2 separate regions of the Homo sapiens genome follow, and region 1 is linked to region 2. The links are contacts of gene promoters, found by promoter capture Hi-C in blood cells and fetal thymus (Javierre and others, 2016). All regions are on one chromosome and are shown on one strand. Each heading gives the region's core, a stretch centred on a gene start or on the middle of the fragment in contact. The rest is flanking DNA. Distances are from core to core; before and after follow the strand shown.

Region 1 (6,802 bases), core at 4,140-6,639, 170 kb after region 2:
CATCCATCTTTTTCATGTCAGTTTTCTACCAGTCAACTTTTTCTACCAGTTTTTATTATTGTTACTTTAAACCTTTTTTCCTGCCTTCTTTTTAGTTGATTTTTTTTTTTTTTTTTTTTTGAGACAGAGTGTCGCTCTGTCGCCCAGGCTGGAGTGCGGTGGTGCAATCTCGGCTCACTGCAAGCTCTGCCTCCCGGGTTCACGCCATTCTCCTACCTCAGCCTCCCGAGTAGCTGGGACTACAGGCGCCCGCCACCACGCCCAGATAATTTTTTTGTATTTTTAGTAGAGACAGGGTTTCACCGTGTTAGCCAGGATGGTCTCGATCTCCTGACCTCATGATCCGCCCGCCTCGGCCTCCCAAAGTGCTGGGATTACAGGCGTGAGCCACCGCACCTGGCCTTAGTGGACTATTTTTTATAATTTCATTTTAGCTATCAGCTTTTTATCTCTACTCCTCTTTGCATTGTATTTCTAGTGTTTGCCCTGGAGATTACCATAAACATACTTACCACACTAGAGTTAGCAGGTAGGTCCATTTCCCACCCGTGTCCCCACCTGTATTTGTCGTATGTGTAACATGTACATGTATTATAAACACAGTATAGTGTTATAATTGTTGCTTTCAACAGTCATATGTATTTTGAAGAAATTAAAAGGAAAGAAATAGTCTTTTACATTTACCTACATATTTACCATCCATTTCTGGTGTTTTTTTTTTTTTTTTTTTTTTTTTTTTTTTTTTTTTTTGAGACAGAGTTTTGCTCTTTGTAGCCCAGGCTGGAGTGGGCAACAAACCTCAGCTCACCACAACCTCTACCCTCCAGGTTCAAGTGATTCTCCTGCCTCAGCCTCCGGAGTAGCTGGGATTACAGGCATGCGCCACCACGCCTGGCTAATTTTGTATTTTTAGGGGAGATGGGGTTTCTCCATGTTGGTCAGGCTGGTCTCAAACTCCCAACCTCAGGTGATCTGCCTGCCTCGGCCTCCCAAAGCGTCATTTCTGGTGTTCTTACTTCTTCCCTATGATTCCGATTTGCATGTGGTATCACTCCTCTTCAGCCTGAGCTCCCTTTAACATTTCTTCTAGTTCAGATCTCCTGATGATGAATTTTCTTACTTTTCGTTAATCTGAAATGTATTTATTTTGCCTGTATTCTTCAAGGTTGTTCTCATCAGATAGAGAATTCTGAGGCCAGGCACAGTGGCTCATGCCTGTAATCTCAGCACTTTGGGAGGCCAAGGTGGGAGGATTTCTTGAGGCCAGGAGTTCAAGTCCAGCCTGGGTAACAAGTGAGACCCCATCTCTGAAAAAAATAGCAAGGCATGGTGGCATGCACCTGCAGTCTTGGCTGCTTGGGAGGCTGAGGTGGGAGGACTGCTTGAGCCCAGGAGGTTGAGTCTGCAGTGAGCTGTGATAGCACCACTGCACTCCAGCCTGGGTGACAAAGCAAGATCCTGATTCAAAAAAAATCCTGATTTGACAGATTTTTTTCCTTTCAGCACTTGAATGTTTTCCCTGTCTGGGCCTCCATTGTTTCTGGAAGAGTCAGCTATGGGCTGTCTGTGGGGCCCTTACATGTCATGTGTCTCTCCATCTCCCACTGCACTGGCTGCTGTCATGACTTTCTTCTTGAATTTGTGTTTCAGCAGTGCGATAATGATGTTCCTAGGTGTTTTCATTGTATTTATCCTGGGCTTTTGGGATCTATATTTGTGTTTTGCCAAATTTGGGAAATTTGCTCTTTTTCTCCTTCTGGGACTCCAATTAAATGTTAGGTCTTCCATATCTAGTAGACACACATTTGTGATTACTGCTCATTATTTTCTTTTTTTCTGTCCTTTGGATTAATTTGTATTTATCTAGACTTTCTTTAGCTATCTTCAATCTGCTGTTAACCTCTCCAGCAATCTTTTTAGAGCTTGTATTTTGCAGCCCTAGAATTTACACTTAGTTCTTTTTATTATTTATTGGCTAAAATTCCCTATTTGTTAATTTGTTTAAAATATATTTTATATTTATATCCTAAAGCAGAGTTGTAACTGCTGCTGTAAAATCTTAGCTACCGGTTCCAATATCTGGGTCATGTAGGATTGATCTCCATTACTTGCCTTTTGAGTATGGGTCAAATTTTCCTGTTTCTTATGTCTAGTCATTTTTTTGTATCATGGACATTGTGGATAATCCATTGTAGAGACTCTGGATTCTGTTACATTCCTCCAAAGAGTATTGCTTTTTTTTGGTTCATTTTATTAGGCAATCACCTTTGCTCAGCTCAGAGCCGAAACTCTTTCCCCTGTGGTGGATAGCAGCTGAAATCCCTGCTTGTAGCGTGAGTTGGCTTAAAGTCTGCACCTCCCCTGCCTCATGTGTAGTGTGGGAGCAACTAGTGACGAGGGCAGCATATGCTCAGGATTTGGGATCCCCTCTATGCCTGCTGCATCCCAACGTTTCCACCTTCACATTCCAGCTGCTGTGGTCAACAAAAATCTTTTATTTATTTATTTATTTATTTATTTGAGATGGAGTGTCGCTCTATCGCCCAGGCTGGAGTGCAGTGGCGTGATCTCGGCTCACTGCAAGCTCCGCCTCCCTGGTTCATGCCATTCTCCTGCTGCAGCCTCCCGAGTAGCTGGGACTACAGGCGCCCGCCACCACGCCCAGTTAATTTTTTTTGCATTTTTAGTAGAGACGGGGTTTCACCGTGTTAGCCAGGATGGTCTCGATCTCCTGACCTCGTGATCCACCCACCTTGGCCTCCCAAAGTGCTGGGATTACAGGCGTGAGGTACCGCACCTGGCCAACAAAAATCTTGATTCTGATTCTTTAAGCCTGGAAGAGGGCAGGCTTCGAGGTGGCTGATGCCCACACTGGCCCTGACTTGGGCCTACCCTGAGGCAGAAAGTTGTGAGAAGCAGCCGGGTGCAGTGGCTCACGCCTGTAATCCCAGCACTTTGGGAGGCCAAGGCGGGCAGATCATGAGGTCAGGAGATGGAGACCATCTTGGCTAACACGGTGAAACCCCGTCTCTACTAAAAATACAAAAAATTAGCCGGGTGTGGTGGTGGGCGCCTGTAGTCCCAGCTACTTGGGAGGCTGAGGCAGGAGAATGGTGTGAACCCGGGAGGCGGAGCTTGCAGTGAGCAGAGATCGCACCACTGCACTCCAGCCTGGGCGACACAGCAAGACTCCGTCTCAAAAAAGAAAAAAAAAAAAAGAAAGTTGTGAGAAGCAGGAAGCCTGCCCAGTGCCACCCACTCCCAGCATCAGCCTGCTCACGGCTGCCCCCAGTGCCTTTCCATGTGTCCGTCGTCATTAGGGGGAGGGCTGCTCTCACAGGAGTCGTGCTGCTGTTGTCAGAAGCCTCTCTTCTCATTCTTTTTTCTTTTCTGAGACAGTCTTGCTCTGTTGCCCAGCTGGAGTGCAGTGGCATGATCGTGGCTCACTGCAACCTCCGCCTCCTGGGCTCAAGCAATTGTCCTGCCTCAGCCTCCCAAGTAGCTGGGACTACAGGTTCCCGCCACCACGCCCAGCTAATTTTTGTATTTATTTATTTATTTTTTAGTAGAGACGGGGTTTCACCGTGTTAGCCAGGATGGTCTTGATCTCCTGACCTCGTGATCCGCCCACCTCGGCCTCCCAAAGTGCTGGGATTACAGGCGTGAGCCACCGCGCCCGGCCTCTTTTTCAACCATAATTCTGTTGTAGCCAACATAGAGAATTGCACGCGCCTGCATCCGTCAGACCCTGCAGCTATGCCGATGCCTGCAGGGCCTCTGCACCCACCAGTTGTGTTGCCCTATTAGATAGTTCCCGGGACTCACAAACTGAGTATCGAGAAATGAGCTTGGGAAACATGCTGGCGACCGTGTCGGGCTCGCTGGGCTGCAGCCTCCAGAATTCACAGGAAAGCTCCTTGGCAGTGGCTCTCCCTCAGGGCTGAAAGGTCAGCTCCGTGAGACACAGACTTCCTGGCCCGGTTGCTCACTCCCCTCTGCGCCGTTCCACTTCCATTCACTGACCCCTTTTGCTGCTGGAAAAAACAACTCAAGTCTAATCCTAACAAGGTTTCTTTTTTGTTGTTGCTTGGTTTGGTTTTGAGACGAGGTCTTGCTCTGTCGCCCAGGCTGGAGTGCGGTGGCACAATCACAGCTCCCTGCAGCCTCAGCCTCCCGGGTTCAAGGGATCCTCGTGAGTGGCTGGTGTGCAGCACCGCGCCCTGCTCCAACGGGGTTTCTATTTCTAGGAGAACTATAGTTTTCCGTATAAAAGCAAAATTGGAGTAGAGAGATGCCCAGACTGCTATATCCTCAAAATTAACAGGAAATCCACATTTTAAATATTTCGCCAACTTCTTTATTCTCTCTATGGTTGCTTGAAGCCTGTGGAATTTAGTAACTCGAGATACAAAAGAAAAAAGAAACTGGGAAGCGCAGCTAAACTGAGAATGCCCAGGCACACGCTCCCTGGCTGCTGCTGTAGCGCCACCCGGGGTCACGTGCACCACCTCACCCAGGCCACAGCTCCTATATCCGCTCAGCTTTCCCGCCATCATCCATCATCTGAGCACAGCCCGCACACACCCTCCTGATGCTGGAGACCGGCAACATTTCTGTCCCCACGTCCTGCCCTCCACCGCCCCTCACCCACCTACGCCGCCTGTCCTGCCCCCCATCCTGCCCCCCACCCACCTATGCCGCCTGTCCTGCCCCCCATCCTGCCCCCCACCACCCCTCACCCACCTATGCCGCCTGTCCTGCCCCCCACCACCCCTCACCCGCCCTCCGCACCTTCTGCCTGCCTTCTGGAAACCACTTGATTGCCCTCTCCGAAGCTAGCTCTGCACACAGAGCAGTCACACGCACCAGGCCCTGGTTGCATCAGGACGCCGGCCCTTTCTGACCACAGGGTCCCTCTTCGACCCTGGTCAGCTCCTTCCTCTCTCTCCCTCCCTGTGCCAGCCCTTCTCTGAATTCTGCCACTGCAGGACCTCGGCCTGACCTGGCTCCCCACTACAGCATTACCCAAGCTTGTTCTGTGCCCTTACGTCCTGTGTCCCCTGTGTCCCCAGCACAGCGCCTGGCACATGGCAGGTGGTTTGTCAGCATGTAAGGCAGCATCTTTTCAGGTGTGGATGTTTGCCCTCAGCCTCTCGTTTGAGACTGTGTGGAAGGCTTGCACTCCACCAGCGCCCACCCCAGCTGAGGCCTTCCTTAAACGCAGGTCCACTGCCAGGTGATGGGAGGGGCCATCCAACAAGCTTATTATATCTTCATAGCTGAGACTCCATCTCAAAAAAAAAAAATACCCAAGCCAAACCAGTAGATATCGCTGCCTGCCCTCCACTCTGACATATGCATGTCCACCCGCAAGACTCGAGTGCAGAACGCGGGGCCTCTGCCTCCCCAGGAGGCTCTGCCCGCACACGCACGGTGAGCAGGCCTGTGCACAGCTGCTGAGGGACTTTCCAGGGCCCTGGCTCTGCATTTCCAGCTGAAATGCTGACCGAAGCTTCCTGTTGAGTGTCCACACATGGCATGTGTGCGGTCCGCGGGCACCGCATCCCCTCATCACCACATTCCCCCATCACCAATGGGAAGCCTCAGTGCACCCCGTGTCCTCCAGCGCGGAGGCACCCCCACCCGCCTCCAGGGGCAGCAGCACGTGCCTGGCCTGCAGGCAGAGGGTCGTGCCTGGTTGTTCAGGAAAGCTGAGTAATGTCTGCTCCTCTGCCCCAGGCCTACAGATTCCTGGAGGAGATGCGGCGGCGGCTTCCCTTGGCCAACATGTCCTACTACGTGAGCCCGCAGGCCGTGGACGCCGTGCACCGGGGGCTGGGTCTCCCACTGCCACGCACCGTCCCCGAGCAGGTCCGCCACAACAGCATGGAGGACGCCAGGGAGCTGGACGAGGAGGTGGTGGAAGAGGCAGATGACGACCCCTGAGGGGCCTGGGCCCCAGGACCAGCGTGCTGCTGCAGAAAGGCATCTTCTGGAATTTTTTTGTCAGCTGTGGCAAAGCCAGCATTTTTGCTGGGAAAAAACATGTCTGTGTTGGAATACGCGACAGAGCTGGGCGAGAACGCAGCGGCCCGGGCCGGCGGAGGGTGTGACCCGTCTGCACCTTGCTCTGTCCCACCTGCCTCTGGGTGCCCGGCAGCTCCACTAGATTTTTGGATTCATTCCTTTGAAGGGAGTCGGGTTCACCCTTCCATCGTATTCTCCCAACTACACATTGTAAAGCCTGAGAAACTTCTAGAACCTCAGGAAGCTGCAGCTGGAGGGCTGGGGCACCTGCCCCCCTGCTCCCCACACATCATATCCTCCCCATACTCCTGCAGGGCCCACGGCTCCTGAGCAACAGCTGGGACACCCGGGCCTTGGCGGCTGCACCCCCTGCTAGGCTCTGCCCACCGGCCACCAACACTCCTGTAATTCCAATAAAGCAGTTTATTTTCTGAGAGCCCGTGCCCTGTCCCATCCCGCCCCACGAGCCCATCCAGGAGCCACACACCCTGCCTGGGCTGTGAGCACTATTCTCCTGGTGACACGGCGCTCAGCCCGAGGGACCTGGGACAAGAGCTGCTCTGTCCTGCTTGGTGGCTCTCAGAGGAGAGCCTTGGGGGCTCTGAGCAGCAGGTACACCGTCCTCCCCTCCTGCCAGCCTGGTTCTGCCCTCACTGGAAGAGTCAACCCCGCCAGCAGCGCCCACAGCCCCAGCCCCACGTCCAGGCTGCCATGTCCCGGCGGGCAGTGCCCAGGCCCAGTGTATTTTTAGCGGACTGGCTGCACTATAAATAGC
Region 2 (7,112 bases), core at 3,972-6,471:
TTGAGGAGGGAGAAAAAAAAAGACAGGTGCACTTAAGAAAAATTATTTTTTAAAAATAACCAATAACCAAGCTTAAATGAGAAAGGGCTGTCCGGGAGCAGTACCTGGCACCTGTAATCCCAGCACCTTGGGAGGCCGAGGTGGGAGGACTGTTTGAGCCCAGGAGTTCGAGACACGCCTGGGCATATGGGGAGACCCTGTCTCTACAAAAAATACAAAAATAAGGCCAGGCGTGGTGGCTCACGCCTGTAATCCCAGCACCTTGGGAGGCCGAGGTGGGCGGATCACGAGGTCAGGAGATCGAGACCATCCTGGCTAACACGGTGAAATCCCGTCTCTACTAAAAATACAAAAAATTAGCCGGGCGTGGTGGCGGACGCCTGTAGTCCCAGCTACTCAGGAGGCTGGGGCAGGAGAATGGCGTGAACCCGGGAGGCGGAGCTTGCAGTGAACCAAGATGCGCCACTGCATTCCAGCCTGGGTGACAGAGCGAGATTCCGTCTCAAAAAAACAAACAAACAAACAAAAAATTAGCTGGGTGTGGTGGTATGCGCCTGTTGTCCCAGTTATTCGGGAGGCTAAGGCTGGCTTGAGCCCAGGAGGTCAAAGCTGCAGTGAACCATGATTGCATCACTGTACACCAGCCTGGACGAAAGAGTGAGGACTTGTTTCACCAAAAGGAAAAAAAATAAAGGGTGGTGGGTGGGAGGGCGTGGCTTAACAAGATTTTAGGTGAGGTGCTCTTAGAGTGGCCATAAGGCCATCTGACTTCCATATCCATTTTTGAATCACGCAGCCCTCCTAATTCTACATTTTTTTTTTTTTTTGAGACGAAATCTCGCTCTTGTTGCCCAGGCCAGAGTGCAATGGCACAATCTCGGCTCACTGCAATCTCCACCTCCTGGGTTCAGGCGATTCTCCTGCCTCAGGCTCCTGAGTAGCTGGGATTACAGATGCCCGCCACCATGCCCAGCTAATTTTTCTATTTTTAGTAGAGACGGGGTTTCACCATGTTGGCCAGGCTGGTCTTGAACTTCTGACCTCAGGTGATCCGCCCACCTCAGCCTCCCAAAGTGCTGGGATTACAGGCATGAGCCACTGTGTCCGGCCTATTTTATTTTTTTGAGATGGAGTCTCACTCTGTTACCAGGCTGGAATACAGTGACGCGATCTCAGCTCACCGCAACCTCCACCTCCCAGGTTCAAGCAATTCTCCCGCCTCAGCCTTCCGAGTAGCTGGGATTACAGGTGTGCGTCACCGTGCTTGGCTATTTTTTTGTATTTTTAGTACAGACGGGGTTTCACCACGTCGGCCAGGCTGGTCTCAAACTCCTGACCTCAAGTGATCCGCCCGCCTCGGCCTCCCAAAGTGCTGGGATTACAGGCGTGAGCCACTGTGCCCAGCCAATTCTGCGATTTTTCTTGGATAGTGTAGCAGGTCTAAACATGCACGGGTCTCTACAGTTCTCTCTTTGGAAATAAGGGATGAAGGCCTGCAATCTTTCGAACTGAACTGAATTTATCAAGTCTTATGTGAGCTGAGCATGAGCTATAATTCCTTTTACTGACTTATTTCAAATATGGCTTTTCTCTCAAGCCCTCAAGGTGCTACAAACTGTCAGATCTGATTCCAGGTAGACTCGCCTTGACTGCAAGCTCTGTAGGACTCTTTCCCGACCCCACATTCCCTACATTCACAGTCTCCTGTCTCCTCTGCCTTTCACCCTTGCTTCAGTTCAACTTGCACATCTCTCGAGCACCTATCATTGGCAATCCTTCCCCAGACGCCGTAGATAGAGGAAAGCAAGTCCTTACCCCGGAGGAGCTTCAAGTTTAAACAGGAAAGCTAGAGCTCTGCACAGGTGGTTTCAGTGTCTGTGTGAGTGACGTGACAGACGCCTAGTGCCATCGGGACTCCAAAATTTGGAAGAGGTGAAACCCAAATTGAGTCTGTGGCCTCCATGTGGAATGGGGACCAATGGGCGCAGGAGGTGAGTGGTAGTTACTTGCAATGACCAGTGTTACTTTGGGGTGATGGAAACACAATATTTAATATTGTTCTATGTGCTTTTCTGAATTTTATTTGAAAACAAGCAAAGAAAAAAAAGTGGTACCAAAGACGGTTTTAGCAGAAATTATGGCGCACACAGGCCCAGCCCCAGGCAAGGGGCAGCGGCTATCTCGGTCACAAAGGCAACAGGTCCCACTGCAGGTTTCACACAGACCGCAGGGCTGGGCTGCCTCAAAGGGGTCTCGGATGAATGGAACTGAGCGTTCAATAGACCTTTCAACAAAAACAGCCCGACAACAATGGCGCAGTGTGGCTTTCTCTAGGCTACAGGCACTTACCACTATGACACTAATAGGGGGAGGGGGAACGCTAGAGCTCACACATTTGGGGACAAATTCACAATGTGAGTGGGGGGTGCTTCCCAATTATTTTTTGCCTTTTGTGGTACCCCTTCCATATATTTCAGTGAAGATATTCAAAACACACAAGAGAAACTCAAGCGCACAGGAGAAGAAAAACCTCACACAGCTGGAGTGGACTGCAGCACTGGAGAGGTAGGGAAAAGCTGTGTGACCCTCCTCGGGGGTCTCCATGCTCCTGACCCTCTCTAATAGTTTGTCCCCGAGTTTCAGAAAGGATGAGGGGACTGGTCAGGCTTAGAGAGAAGCAGTGAGAAATAAACTTGGATTAAATTCCTTACAAATAGAAATGTTCCAGCTTGAAGGAAGACCTCAGGTTAATCGCGGCTAAAGCATAACGCTTTTACGAAACCCCTTTAACACAAGACAATCCCTCAGCAAGGAAAGGAGAGATGTGAGGTCTCAGGAGAGGAAAACCTGGCTAGGTAATCTTACAGCCACCACCTGACTCGCTTCACAGCAAAACTAAATGTGACGCTTACAAGGCGCCCGCCCTGCGACTCGACCCCGTTCAGATGAGTGGCAAATGTGCAGCGTCTGGTGGACCCCAAGCAGAAGCTTCCAGTGATACCTCATCATCCAGTTCAGACCGGCTTTCCTTCCTCACCATCCTAAAAGGAAGAGTTTTCTCCCTTTCTCAACACCTTGTCCAGAAACCAGTCCCCCAGGGTAGTGTGAGTATGACTTTAGTGCGGCCCTGTGCAGCTAACTTCTGGAGCGTGAAAGTCAATATAAAAACATCGGCGTCGCTCAGGGTGATAATAAACACCATCATTTACCGGGCAGCCAGTGCCAGGCAGCACAAACAAAAAGGAAACGTACTAAATGCACACAACTGGGACAGGGCTGGGGATGCAGTCCCTCCCCCCACTGATGTGGGTGGTGCAAAACTCTGGCCACCAGGAACCAGAAACCGGATTCGCTCTGAGCACTAGTTTAAACTCCTGGTCCCACATCGGTGCAGACCTAGGCATAATAATCACTGTTCCATGGATGAAGGGCTGTTTCTTTGAGACGGAGTCTTGCTCTGTCATCCAGGCTGGAGTGCAGTGGTGTGATCTCGGCTCACTGCAAGCTCCGCCTCCCGGGTTCACACCATTCTCCTGCCTCAGCCTCTCAAGGAACTGGGACTACAGGCACCCGCCACCCCACACCCGGCTAATTTTTTCGTATTTTTAGTAGAGACGGGGTTTCACCGTGTTGGCCAGGATGGTCTCGATCTCCTGATCTCGTGGTCCACCTGCCTCGGCCTCCCCAAGTGCCGGGATTACAGCCGTTGAGTCACTGCACCCTGCCACGGGTAATTATTTGGTTACAAGTATTACTGAATACTGACCTAACTCCCTCAAATCTAAAGGGTTTTTTTTTTTTTTGAGACGGAGTCTTGCTCTGTCGTACAGGCTGGAGTGCAGTGGCATTATCTTGGCTCGCTGCCACCTCTGCCTCTGGGTTCAAGTGATTCTCCTGTCTCAGCCTCTCCAAGTAGCTGGGACTACAGGCACACACCACCACGCCTGGCTAATTTTTGCATTTTTAGTAGAGACGGGGGTTTCACCATGTTGGCCAGGCTGGTCTCGAACTCTTGACCTCACGTGACTCGCCCACCTCAGCCTCCCAAAGTGCCGTGATTACAGGTGTGAGCCACCACGCCCGGCCAATCTAAAGGGTTTTTATTTTTAGCAAGTTGGAGCAATTCTTTTACTTAGTATTTATTCAATATAGTATTTGTCTTCACTTGATCATAGCCAAAAGGCTGAGAAGCAATATAGTATTGGTCTTAACAGTCATGGCACACATATTCTCTTCTACTTCTCTGGCGAGGCTGTGCCACAGAGGGGCTCATCATACAGAAAACCTCAGGCATCTGAAGACCCAAACTTCACAATGCAAGTTTACTGCTCAAGTGGCACGAAAGACCTTGTAAGCTCTGTCCCTCTAATTCATGCGAGTCCCAATACCCAAAGAGTGCTTTAAAAGTTCAAAAACATAAGAAAAGTGTGCTCAGTGTTCCTGGCTATTAAAGCTGAGTCAGGATATCTTCGTCCCAATCCACTTCTTCCTACAGCGAAGCCCAGGAGCGCCATCCACCTTCCCAGGAGATAGAACTGACTCTTCCCCAGACGCCCTGGCACTTTCCAAAGGAAGTGGACTCACATGAACTAGTGGAAGCGCGGCCATGGGCAGGGCACAGGCCACACACACACCAGGGACACGGGCACACGGCCACACGCACAGGAGCGGGGGCATGGCCAGACACCCCCCACGAACACATCGCCGCACACCCCTTAGGGACACCCCCCCGGGAACATGGACACGCATCCCACAGACAAAATGGGCCGCACCCACGGGCACACCCCGCCCCCAGGAAACCCCCCACGGAACGCACCACACGGAACGCGGGCGCCCAGGCGCGAGGGAGCGCAGCCCGCCCTCCACACAGCTTTGTTCCCAGAGCCCGGGCGCCCCTCCCCGCCCTCGGCCTCGGTCGCGGGCAGCTCTCCACAGCCCGGGCCTCAGCGAGCGGCCCCTCGGGCTTCGGGCCTCGGTCTGGCGGCGGCGCAGAAAGGCGGGCGGCGGCCCCGAGGGCCTCTGTGAGGTCGCCCTGCCCCCCAACCCCACCCCAACCCCACACGGCTGGTGGACGCCCTGGGCTGGCCCGCTCCCGCCACGTGGTCGCGCTATCCGCCCGCCTCCCGTGTGCCCCGCGCCGCACCTGGAGCCGGCGCGGCCGCCCTCGCTATCCGGGACCTGGAACATGTCGACCGCCGCCACCCTCAGCTCGCCGCGCGCCGTTCCCGCCCGCCCAGCGCAGGTACTCAAGGCCGCCCGCCAGCGCCCATTGGGCGCCAAGACGCCAATCATCCCTCCGCAGCCTATCTCAGCGCGGCCACCGCCCCTCACGCCCACCCCCGACGACTTAGGCTTTGAACGGTCGGCGCCGCGCCCGCAGCCGATTGGGGAAGGCGACGCCGCTCGCGGAGGTGGGAGCTCGCATTGGGCGGCGGGCCGGGCGGGCCCTGGGACGGCCGCGCCCTCGGGAGGAAGCCCGGTCTGCGGGAGCCCGCGAGCCGACCGCGGGGCCGCACCTGGGCCGCACCTGCCCGACCAGGGACTGCGGGCATGGGCGCGCGGCCCTGAAGAACAGGCACAAACGACAGTCCTTAGATCAACATTAGTATGTATTTATGCACAATAAAAACATTTACAAGTTGAACTGGAAATTTAAACAGAAGTTTAACAGCTCTTATTATATTAAATAACCAAAACACCTTTTATTCCCAAAATTGGTAAAGAATAAATAATATAATTTACAATATGGTACAAAAAATAACCAGGAAAGGCAGGCATTCTGCTTTATACATACACTGTATATGCATATTTATAATCTATAAAACAAATTCATATCTGAAACGAGCGGAGGCCTCGCTATGGCTTAACCGAGTAAGAGAGAGAAGGGGAGCGGGGCGCGGGAGGCAGGGCCAGGGGCTGGGCTCCCCACACCTCACCCACCCCAAGGACACGCAGCCACTGTGACATCAGGAGAGCGCTGACAGCCGCGAAGGGTGTGCTGTGGGTTTTTTTCCTTCGTTGTAAATTACTCTTTCCTTGCTTTCTTTTTTTAACTTGAGACCCAGTTTCGCTCTTCTTGCCCAGGCTGGAGTGCACTGGCGCGATCTCGACTCACTGCAACCTCCGCCGCTGAGGTTCAAGTGATTCTCCTACCTCAAGTCTCCTCAGTAGCTGGGATTATGGGCATGCGCCACCACGCCCGGCTAATTCTGTACTTTTAGTAGAGACAGGGTCTCTCCATGTTAGTCAGGGTGGTCTCATACTCCCCACCTCAGGTGATCCGCCCGCCTCGGCCTCCCAAAGTGCTGGGATTACAGGCGTGAGCCACTGCGCCCGGCCTCCTTCCTTGTTTTCTTAAGACAAAGTGCTGTATTTCCTGACAAATGCATCGGCTAGAGCTCAAGGTTTAAAGAGAAAACACAACTGTCTTCCTCCTCCCTCATTCCCGGTGTCTTATGCCCCACAACTTTCTTTGCAGAAGAAATTTTGAATTCAATGCTGTGATCTAATTAAAGATGCTATTAAACTAAAAAGGTTATCCACCAGAAATGAGGCCACGGCCTCTCATGCCCAGAACCTGGAGGTGCGGCAAAGCAAGGAGGCCAACCGCGGAAACGCCGCCAACACCCCACTCCCTGAGCTGGCACCCTACAGCTACAAGACACAGAAGGACAAAACAGCCAGGAAGCCACGAACTAGGCATCCCCCGAGGCACGCAATGCCCGCTTATCACTGCACATCCACAACAGAATTGAGGCCAGAGGACTAACTTCCCTGGACCACAGATGCTCTGTCCCAATCTCCAGAAAAGACGAATCAACAGAAAGATCCCAGGCAACGTCAGAGGGATTCAGGAAAGCTTTTTCTAAGAAACTGATCTCATCTTAATTACAGCATGCTCAAATGCACAAAGGAAGCCACAGGCTCATACTTAGACGATCACCGCTTCTGTTGGAAAGGCAGAAGATGCAGGAAGTCTCTGTTTGGATCTTTTGAAAATTCCAGCCTTTAACAGTTGCCTATGTTTGCACATAAATATTCATTTAGGCCAGAAGAAAATGTATCCATTGTTTTTCTGCAACAAATGACACCATTTTCCCTTAATGTGGCAA

What was found. The method cuts DNA at HindIII sites, captures the fragments that hold promoters and counts their contacts. A CHiCAGO score of 5 or more calls a contact.
Region 1: a contact is called between a fragment that was not itself captured here and the fragment with the promoter of JPT2 in region 2, in 1 of 17 cell types (endothelial precursors). The highest score is 5.3, in endothelial precursors.

Annotation. Positions count from the first base shown.
Region 1 is chr16:1,510,088-1,516,889 of GRCh38, reverse strand. It overlaps TELO2 (telomere maintenance 2), which reads right to left. Exons shown (of 21, transcript NM_016111.4): 21 at 6,436-6,802. It overlaps IFT140 (intraflagellar transport 140), which reads left to right. Exons shown (of 31, transcript NM_014714.4): 31 at 5,740-6,463. The coding sequence ends at 5,946. Among named protein-coding and RNA genes, the nearest start is that of TELO2, 20 kb to the right of the region's middle. The HindIII fragment of the contact is 251 bases long and covers 5,264-5,514 here.
Region 2 is chr16:1,676,388-1,683,499 of GRCh38, reverse strand. JPT2 (Jupiter microtubule associated homolog 2) reads right to left here and starts at 5,221. Exons shown (of 5, transcript NM_144570.3): 1 at 5,144-5,221. The coding sequence starts at 5,187. CRAMP1 (cramped chromatin regulator 1) reads right to left here. Exons shown (of 21, transcript NM_020825.4): 21 at 5,592-7,112. RefSeq lists silencers at 4,805-5,164, 5,195-5,594 and an enhancer at 4,729-5,364. The HindIII fragment of the contact is 3,871 bases long and covers 2,991-6,861 here.